Linked DNA regions of Homo sapiens: all the other regions are linked to region 1. The links are contacts of gene promoters, found by promoter capture Hi-C in blood cells and fetal thymus (Javierre and others, 2016). All regions are on one chromosome and are shown on one strand. The core of a region is centred on a gene start or on the middle of the fragment in contact, and the rest is flanking DNA. Distances in the headings are between cores, read along the strand shown. Region 1 holds the start of OAT (ornithine aminotransferase). Region 2 overlaps FAM53B (family with sequence similarity 53 member B). Region 3 holds the start of CHST15 (carbohydrate sulfotransferase 15).

Evidence for each region. Contacts are between HindIII fragments. The CHiCAGO score rates a contact against its expected background, and 5 or more counts as called.
Region 2: a fragment that was not itself captured here is called in contact with the fragment with the promoter of OAT in region 1 in 1 of 17 cell types (naive CD4 T cells); the score reaches 5.3 in naive CD4 T cells.
Region 3: a contact is called between the fragment with the promoter of CHST15 here and the fragment with the promoter of OAT in region 1, in 1 of 17 cell types (monocytes). The highest score is 5.2, in monocytes.

What each region holds. Positions count from the first base shown.
Region 1 is chr10:124,417,136-124,420,360 of GRCh38, reverse strand. It overlaps OAT (ornithine aminotransferase), which reads left to right and starts at 1,438. Exons shown (of 10, transcript NM_000274.4): 1 at 1,438-1,488. RefSeq lists an enhancer at 249-763 and silencers at 737-1,396, 1,339-1,878. The HindIII fragment of the contact is 6,386 bases long and covers 1-2,767 here.
Region 2 is chr10:124,725,270-124,728,477 of GRCh38, reverse strand. All of the region lies in intron 1 of FAM53B (family with sequence similarity 53 member B), which reads left to right. Among named protein-coding and RNA genes, the nearest start is that of FAM53B, 18 kb to the left of the region's middle. The HindIII fragment of the contact is 3,243 bases long and covers 1-2,981 here.
Region 3 is chr10:124,092,328-124,095,268 of GRCh38, reverse strand. CHST15 (carbohydrate sulfotransferase 15) reads left to right here and starts at 1,671. Exons shown (of 8, transcript NM_001270764.2): 1 at 1,671-1,800. The HindIII fragment of the contact is 12,111 bases long and covers 1-2,941 here.

The sequences.
Region 1 (3,225 bases), core at 189-2,688:
TGTGGAAGCCTGACAGGAGATGCTCATTGTCCAGCTCCTTCCCATGCAGTTGCTGATGACTTTGGTGACCAGATAGCCTTTCCCACACTCCTCTCTTTGGGTTCTGGAATTCTGGAAACCCCACTTGGAGGCCGTTGGGCCTAGGATGGATAATGGCCCTCGCTGGTGCATGAGACCCAGGTTATTTCTCCATCCCTTGTGGTTTACTTGCCTACATTGATTGATTGATTGGTTGATTAAGATAGATGGTCTTGCTTTGTTGCCCAGGCTGGAGTGCAGTGGTGCAGTCATAGGTCACTGCAGCCTCAACCTCCTGGGCTCAAGTGATCCTCCCACCTCAGCCTTTGGAGTAGCTGGGAACATAGGTGTGCCACCACACCAGATTAATTTTTATTTTTTTTTGTGGAGACGGGGTCTCACTGTGTCGCCCAGGCTGGTCTGGAACTCCTGGGATCAAGCAATCCTCCTGCCTCGGTCTGCCAAAGTGCTGGGATTACAGGCATGAACCACGGGCCCCCACCACCACGTTTTAGGAAATGTTCACATTGGAGTGTGCCCTCTGTTTCCAGCTGGGCCCCCGACTGGTCATTGTGGTCTAATGGAGTGTGGTGCCGGCAGCTGCCAGCGCCTGCCCTCTGAGAGGGGTGGCGAGGGGCACACAGGACCAGACTGCCCCTACTGTTGGATGACTGGGTAAGTCGCTTTCCTTCTCTGGGTCTCTGTTTTCCAATATTTAACATCTTGTTGTGGGCTAAGTGAAGTCCAAGTCCCTTCCGATTCTAACATGAGGTTGTCCCGGAATATCTATTTTGTGTTCTGAATTTAATAACCGGCTGTGGAGGGCACCACAGGCAAATCTGTACTGTGAGTGGGTTGCTGCCACTCAATTATCTGACAGCAGCTGCGAACAGGTGGGCAGTGTGTTTTCCATAGGCAGCGACGACTTTTGGAGGTGGATTCAGAGGCACAACTAAGCCGCGCGGCGCATCAGGGTTCAAGGGCATGGGGCTCCCGCAGCTGTGGCTGGGGCAGAGCTGGGGCTGGTCCCTCCCTCCAGGAGCACAGGGCGGGCGGTCCAGCCTCACGTCTCTCGGCCTCCAGCCACACCCGGCCCGCGCAGTGGGGGGCCCAACAGACTTTTCCTTTTCGGGCCTCAGTCTTCTCGTCAGCAAGGGCGGACAAGGACTCTTCTCGTCCCGCCAGAGGAGGCGACCGAGGGGCCTGAGCTCAGGTACAGGCCGGCGGGCTCAGGAGGCGCGAGCGCGGATCGAATCCGCGGGAGGAGCAAAGATCCTTGATGCGCGGCCGGAGGGCGGGGCGGAGGACGGGACCCACGCGATTGGTATCCTGCCCTCCGCCCCAGCCAATGAGCGGCGAGGGTGTCTTGGGGGCGGGGCAGAATCAGCCTTTAAGTTGCAGTGACTCTCCGGCGTCACTGTTGCGCTTCATAGACGCCGCGTGTACCCGGTTGTCCTCAGGCGCTGTCAGGTACCGTCTGGGCGCCGCTGTCCTGGGGCTCTGGTTCGGGCCCTGGCCGGGGTTCCCTGACAGCGGCGGGGGAGGCGGGCGGGCGCGGGGTGGCCGCGGCCCGGGTTCGGGGGATGCTGGCTGAGGGGGCGCGCTGGGCCTCGGCCGGGGAACGAGCCCCGCTTCAGCGGCCCGTTTACTCTGCGGGCGGCTCGGACCCGGGCGCCCTGGAGTCTCCGGCCGGCGCGCAGCTTCAGGGGGCAGGGGCGTGGCGACCCACGGCTTGCAGGCCGGAGTCCTGGTTCCAGCCCAGAGCGGCCGACGGGCGGGCGGCAGGGAGAGGCTGAGGATGTGGCAGCCCCGCCTGCCAGACCGGGCGGAGCCGCCGCCCCCTGCGCTCGCGGCCTGTGGAGGCCAGGACTCGGCCCACCCGGCCCAGAGACCCCGAGGCGCCCCGGGGTTCCGGGTAGGAGGCCTTTGGGCACCCTTGGTTCCTGGGGTTGGCGGGGAGGCTGCGTTCTGGGGACGGGGGAGCTGTGCAGTAAACCGGTGGCCCTGGTCACGCGGCGGGGGCGCTGATGCAGCCTTGGAGGGCTGGGTCCTCCCGGCCTGCTCCTGCGCCCTGCAGATCGGCCTGCCCATCGCTCCCCTCTTCCAGCCTATGATTTTTTTTCTCCAGCCTCTGTCGAAATAAAGAAAATTACGGAAGCAGAACCTTCCTTACAGTAACGTGCAGGTTAATTAGATGGTGGGGGATGGGGGGGCAACAGGACTTTCAGCATGAAAACCTCCCGTTGGGGGCTTTTTGCAAACCCTGCTGAGCATCAGTAAATGGGCCTGGCCAGTGCGTTTCCTCGATCGCCTTCCCGGGCGGGACGGGAGGGGTCATTGTCCGCCCTTTGCTGGCGAGAGGACTGAGGCCCGAAGTCACCTGGGCACTCGCCCTGTGACCCACCGTCTCCTTTTGTCACTCTACATCTTACCTTTTCGGTGTTCAGTTTTACCTCTTAGATAAATTACGGTGATAAATTAAGGGCGAACAGACAGTGACTTTGGAATGAAGTGGCTTTACCTTAAGAAATGACTAATGTTCAGTTTCCAAATTCTAAATTTCTCCTTCTGGGATTGAAAGGGTTTCTGTGGATAAGCTAGTTCTTTCAGTTAACCCCGGAACTGTTCTTTAGATTGTAATCAATCGCTCTTAGCCATGTGAAATAACAATAGACTCCTTTCATTAGAATATCCTGGTTCTGTCTTTAGATGAATCTTTTCATAAAAACGAGCGTTAAATTAAAAAGCTTATTTTTAGCCCGGCACGGTGGCTCACACCTGTGTAATCCCAGTATTATGGGAGGCCCAGGCAGGCGGATCACCTGAGGCCAGGAGTTTGAGACTAGCCTGGCCAACATGGTGAAACCCTTTCTCTACTAAAAATACAAAAATTAGCCAGACATCGTGGTGCGCGCCTGTAATCCCAGCTACTCGGGAGGCTGAGGCAGGAGAATTGCTTGAACCCGGGAGGCAGAGCTTGCAGTGAGTTGAGATCGTGCCACTGCACTCCAGCCTGGGCGACAGACTCCGTCTCGAAAAAAAAAAAAAAAAAAAAAAAAGCTTATAGTTTTGGGTTTACAGTTTTTCATGGTGTTTAAGATTAGTTTTGCATCCCCCCCCCAAAGAAAAATCCAGTATAACTTTAAATAGTAAACATTTTTAAAAGACATTTTTCCCTCAAAGCAGCTGTCTTAATATGTATTATCC
Region 2 (3,208 bases), core at 111-2,610, 310 kb before region 1:
ATTTGGCATGGAAACTCTTTCCCTACCCCACCTCGTGGGCGAGGCCAGAAGGGAGCTCTCCTGGTGGGGGCAGGGCAGACCCCAGGCTCTGCTGTACTTCAGATAATGCCACGGTTTCCTCCATAGAATGGGTGCCACAGCCTCCCATGGGGCCAGGCTGAGTGAACGAACCAGATCAACTGTCTCTCCAAGTCCATGGGTGGGAAGGCAGGCCTCTCCTGTCTGTGATTGGGAGTTGTATGGGTCTGCTTTGTTGTGCATGGAATTTCACACAGTCTGAGCTGTCTAGGCATTTTCAGGCCTCCAGCTAACTCACCGAGTGAGCCAGGGAGTGGTGCCGATGAGAATGTGTGACTGGATCGCGAAGCCAAGCGAGTCCATGGAGATCTTCAAACCAAGATGAAACTTAGTCGTTTGAGTGTTTTCAGGGGTCTGAATCGTCAGCATCATTTAGACTGGAGTTTGCACTCTGGTGGTCTGGGTCTGGGGGCCAGATGTGGTCCTCAGACATGATTTGTTTGTCTCATATGATGCTTTACAAGTTTTTAAATTTCTTGGGAACATAAAAAGGAGATTGTGCAAAGAAGTCCTGACTTTCAGTTTCTCTTAACAAGTCAGGAGGTAAATTTTAATAGTAGCCTGGATCTTCTTTCCCAAACAGCCCACCACAGTTAGCTGTAGCCAGAGCCGTCCACGGTGGGCCAGGCATGTTCTCTGCACATCATCTCGGTTCCTATGCAGCATGCTTCTCTCATTTGTGTTTCCTGCTTGGCCCTGGAAGGCATTTGAGTTTGAGATCCCTGGAGTGGATAAGACATTGGGAAGGCAGATTCAGATTTTCTGGCTCTCCAGGTTATTGGCACAGGGAGAACGATGGTGAATGGCAGTGACTAGTAGAAATGCCCAGGATGTTTGCAGTGCTCAAGGTCATTGCCATCATAATCCTGCTACCTCGTGTTCCACCTGCTAGTAAACTTGCAAAGATAAGCCAGTACTCCGGGCACTAATAAAAACTCTGAAAGTACAAATATGTCCCTTAAATCTTGGAAGCTAGTCTCAGGCCAGGGGCCCTTCTACCCTGTGAATGGCCCTGTGATACTGGGTGACCTGGGGATTCATTTTGTACCCCCGCACCCCCCCCCCCCCCACAATCACTCAGGTGCTTCACCTAGTGTAATCTTCTTATCTACAAGTGCCTTCCTGAGGCTGAGGCAGGCAGATCGCTTGAGCCCAGGAGTTTGAGACCAGCCTAGTCAACGTAGAGAAAACCCATCTCTACTAAAAATACAAAAATTAGCCGGGTGTTATGGCATGCACCTGTGGTCCCAGCAACTGGGAGGCTGAGACGGGAGGATCGCTTGAGCCTGGGAGGCGGACGTTGCAGTGAGCCAAGATCGTGCCACTGCACTCCAGCCTGGGTGACAGAGTGAGACCCTGTCTCCAAATATAAATAAGTAACTAAATAAATAAAAAGTGCCTTCTGGATTTTAATAGATATTGCAAGGGAATTTTTACAAATAAAGATGTAATTTTTAAATTCTCATGACAGGCAGCCTAGCTGCTGTGTACCAAGTAGATAACTTCTGGTGTTAGACGGAAATTTCTTAGGGTAGATGAAACATGTATCTCAGCTCTTTCTTTTGACAGAGACTCAATACAGCAAGTAGAAGTAAAGCAAAGATTTGCCAGATGGTAATTAGTATTTTTCAAAGAATTGAGGTGTTCTCTTCGTATTTCTTCAAATATCTAATAGCAATCCCTCCTATCATTTATCTTTTTCACTCAACCCTGTTTTTATCTCTTCGTATGGCAGCTGTTCTGTGACTTTTTGTTTCCTTCTGATTCTCACACGTATTTCACCGCATAGTCAACCTTTGGGATTCTTAGTGTCATTCCAAATGGTTTGCTGAATTTGAGAAATGTAGCTTGTCAATCCATTGCCTGAAAGCCCTTCCCATGCCTTTCCTTTGCAGCAGAAACATGGCATCCTCATCTGCCTCTTTCTCACCTACTGGTCAGGGCATTGTGCACCTGGGTGGTTGGTTCAGCCTCTGATTCTGCTAGGCCAAGGCTCTGACGATGCCACTGTTCTCCTTCAGTGCATTCTAGGGACTGTTGGAGCTCCTGAAGGCCAAGGATCATCTTGACCTAGATTTAGATTTCCAGGGCCTGGCCAGAGGACATGCTGGGGGTGGGTAGTAGGCCACCCATCCAATTCTGACCTCATGGCTTTTGCAAGAAACTCAACTTTTATGGATCCTGATTTTCTCATGTGCAAAATTGTCCTCCCAGTTACTAGGGTTCTAGGTACCAAATCCACTAAAAATGTGTTTTTCAAACTTTAGGAACCACCGGACTCAACCTGGAGGGCTTACTAGACACAGCTGCTGGGTCCCACCCTCATGCAGTTTGTCTGGGGTCGGGGACTGAAACTTTGCCTTCCTAATGAGTTCTCAGGCAATTCTCTACTGATCCGGGTCCACGCTTGGAGAACCAGTGCACATTGCTGAAGCAGGTGCCAGGTACCCCAGTGTTCCCCCCAGCAAGGATGTGGGTTGGCCTGTGTGGGTCTTGGCTGCCTGGCATATGAGGCTCGTCTTTCCTTTCATTTTCCCACTGCATCTTATTTTCTGGGAAACTTGAGACTAGATTCCCGGAGATGTTTTGTTTTCCGTTCAGCCATCTTCATGGAAGCTGTCCTCACACTCTCACCGTGATAGTTGGAGACACATTTATTTCCTACCTTTAGGTAATTCTATCACTAACACACACCATCCACTGTCCATCTCGGTTTCCACCCTCCACCTGGAACCCAGATACTAACGGAGGCAGCCTTGGCGATTTTGAGTTTTGAGCTTTTGGTTTCCCAGATAGGTTGATTTTACCCGTTCTCACCAAAGACAGGCCGCATTTGGGTCGAGCTGACAGAGCTGTCATGGACACAGCAGGTTACCCTGTACTCGGGAATGCTTCATGAAGCTTCCCACTCACTGCCGTCAGTCCAAGGCTGGGCGCCCTTTGTTTCAGGTGCCCTGAAATCAGTGTCTCCGTGCAGTGGTGGGAAATAGAGTGCTTAACCATGTCCAGAATCAACTGCTGTACCCTTTCTTTCCCTTCCCTGATGACACCTGAGCCCAGCCGGGGCTGCTGGAGGTGAGAGACCCTGGGACCCATCTGGGGAAGCAGGTGCAGAGCCAGGAAATGGTGC
Region 3 (2,941 bases), core at 422-2,921, 330 kb after region 1:
GGGCCTTCCTTGCAGACGCATGTACAACCAACCCTCTTTAACAGCAACCTGCTCTGTGTCCCCTGATGCAATTACTCGAGTATATAAACCTCACTGAAAGGCAGGCTTTTCTTGGGAGCTAATAAATAAGCCCCAAAGCCACAACGTGTGTGAGACCTTGAAAAATGGCATCATCATCTATTGGGAATTGTGAACCCTGCAAAAAGCAGCTCGTTGTATTTTCAGAAATAGGTTTTTGTTTAAAAAAAAAATAAAGAACAAAAATCACTAAGTGGAGTCTATATGGAAAAAGCAATCTAGTCTGAGATTCTAAGGCAAGTCTCTTTGCTGCATTCATCTTTCTTCGCAGATTTTATGTAAGAGGCATTATTTGCAGGAAAACAAGACAGGATTTTAAAGAACTCCCCTCTCATCCCGGTTTCCCATCTGCAGTTATAATCCTCTGATGGTGACCTCTGCATTAGTTGCCATGGGTGCTGAGCAGAAGTTTATGACCTCAGGGTGGACTGTAGCTTCAGGGGGGCGAGATGAAGCCTCCGGCAATAAAGAGATAATGGGGAGAAGCCACTGTCAGGAATGACCCTTCGGTGGCATGTAGTCTACAGTTAACGGAGCACTTTCATTTCCACTTCTGGTTGCTTCGAGGAAGAGGGTGCTGGACTCTGGCCACGGGGACACAGGCCGGCAAGAGACTGCAGATTCTTTTTGTCCCTTGGACCTCAGTTTCCTGAGAGGCTGGGCTTGGTGCTCCAAGCGCCCTCTGAGCGAATCTGCCAGAATTTCATGTGTCTTTTCTTTAACTGATGGCATCTTCAGCCCAGAGTCAGTGGAGTCGGCCACTGGTGCCGCTTTCTTGCCCTCGGGCTGTCCAGGTGGTTCCCTGGGGCAGCCGACTCCAGGCCACTGCGGCAGGCCGTGGCGATCGGGGTCCTGCAGAGCTTTACCTCCCCCGCGGAAGCAAAACACGCCGGGCCAAAGAGCCGGGCCAGCCTTCCCGGGATGCAAAAATACAACAGAGGGCGCCGAACTCACCAGCGCTGTGGCCTTGAATATTAATGTACGGGCTGGCTCCAGACCGCCAAGTTCCTTAAAGATGTCTCTGGCGGCCGGGCGCGGTGGCTTACGCCTGTAATCCCAGCACTTTGGGTTGGGGGGGCGGACGGATCATCTGAGGTCGGGAGTTCGAGACCAGCCTGACCAACATGGAGAAACCCCGTCTGTACTAAAAATATAAAATTAGCCTATTTTGCGTGGTGGCGCATGCCTGTAATCCCGGCTACTCGGGAGGCTGAGGCAGGAGACTCTCTTGAACCCGGGAGGCTGAGGCAGGAGACTCTCTTGAACCCGGGAGGCGGAAGTTGCAGTGAGCCGAGATCGCGCCATTGCATTCCAGCCTGGGCAACAAGAGCGAAACTCTGTCTTTAAAAAAAAGAAGTATCTGGCAAGGTGTCACTGCCAGATTTCAGGGGTTTCGATGTGCTTTTATTTGGAATCACCGCAACACACAAGCAGTGTTGACTCGGAGGGGGAGGGGGCAGGGGCCAAACCCACCGCTCGGCGCACACGCCTTGATCTCACATTCCAGACTGGAGCTGATGTGTGTCAGCGCGACATGGGGCGGGGGGAGGGTTCTCCTCGGATGTTTCATTCGCCGTCTGCACGTCACTCCCAAACTTTTCCTCCCAGCGCTCGGGGAGTCAGGTTGACGCGCCCTGGATGCGGGGCTAGAGGCTCGGGGCTGGGCGCGCTCCCGCGGAGCCGGAGCCGCAGAGGCTCCCGGGCTGGACTCAGGCTTCTCAGGTACAAGTTAGGTGCCAGACGCCGAGGTGGGGTCGGCGAGGAGCGGCGGTAGGAGGTCTGGCCCTGGGCTCGGGGCTCCGGCGCCCCTCCGCGGGTTCGGGCCAGGCAGCGCCGGCGGCGGCCGGGGCTGGGCGTAGGGAGTCCGGGCCGGCGGAGGCGGCGCGCAGCCTCACTCCCCGCGGCGCTCCCGGCGCGGTGGTGGCGGTGGCGGTGGCGGCGGCGGCCCAGGCAGACAATGAACTTGCGAGCTCGACGAGCCGAGGCAGGTTTGGGCCCCGGGCTCCTTGGCCCGGCCTCCCCGAGGCTTCAGCGATCCCCAGCGGGAGGAGTCCCTTCGCCATTGGTCCTGGCCGCGCTCCGGGCGCCCTGCGCGCTTGAGGACCCCGCGGGAAGGGTTACCCAGCGGCGACACACGCCCCCTCCCTCGCAGAGAGGACGCGGCCGGAGCGAGGGGACAGGGGACCGAGCAGTGGCGTGGTGGCGCCGTGGATAGCCGGAGGCCGGCGGGGGGCGCAAGCCGCGTGGAACGCACCGGCGGGCTGTCCGGGAGAAGGAGCCCAGTAGTCGGAATCGGGGCGCCCCTGCACCGCCCAGCTCTGGGAGCCGCAGGCGGGGGACCGACCGACGGACAGACCAGTGCTTTCACGGTGTGAGCGCGCGTCGTTTGGCGGTAGGGGACGGGGATTCCCCCCAGCCTTGCGCTCCGCCCCCACACCCCTATCGCACTTTGGGGAAGTTTCCAGGCGCGGCCCGGGGCAGGTAAGTGGGCATCCGCCACTCTCTCCCCGGTTGCGAGCTCGGATGCGCTTCCAGAACCCTGGCTCTAGCCTTGCGGCGGTTCCGGGCGGGGAGGCCAGAGCTCTCCCGCGCCTAAGCCCGTGGGACCCGGTTCAGGGAAGGGGGATGGCGGGGGCGGGCCTGGGAAGAGATAGGGGAGCGGCTGAGCCCCGAGCGGTGTGAACTTTTGCTCCCCGCCCCCTCCTCCTTCCTCCTCCCCGCCCCGCCCCCACTGCTGTCCCCTCCCTGCGCCCCGCCGCGTCTCGGGAGGCGGCGTGACTCGGGAGTTGCCGGCGCTTCCCGGCGGTGGCGGCGTCTCTGGCCGGCCTTGGTGCGGCGAGCCGAGCGAGGCAGCTCTGAGCCG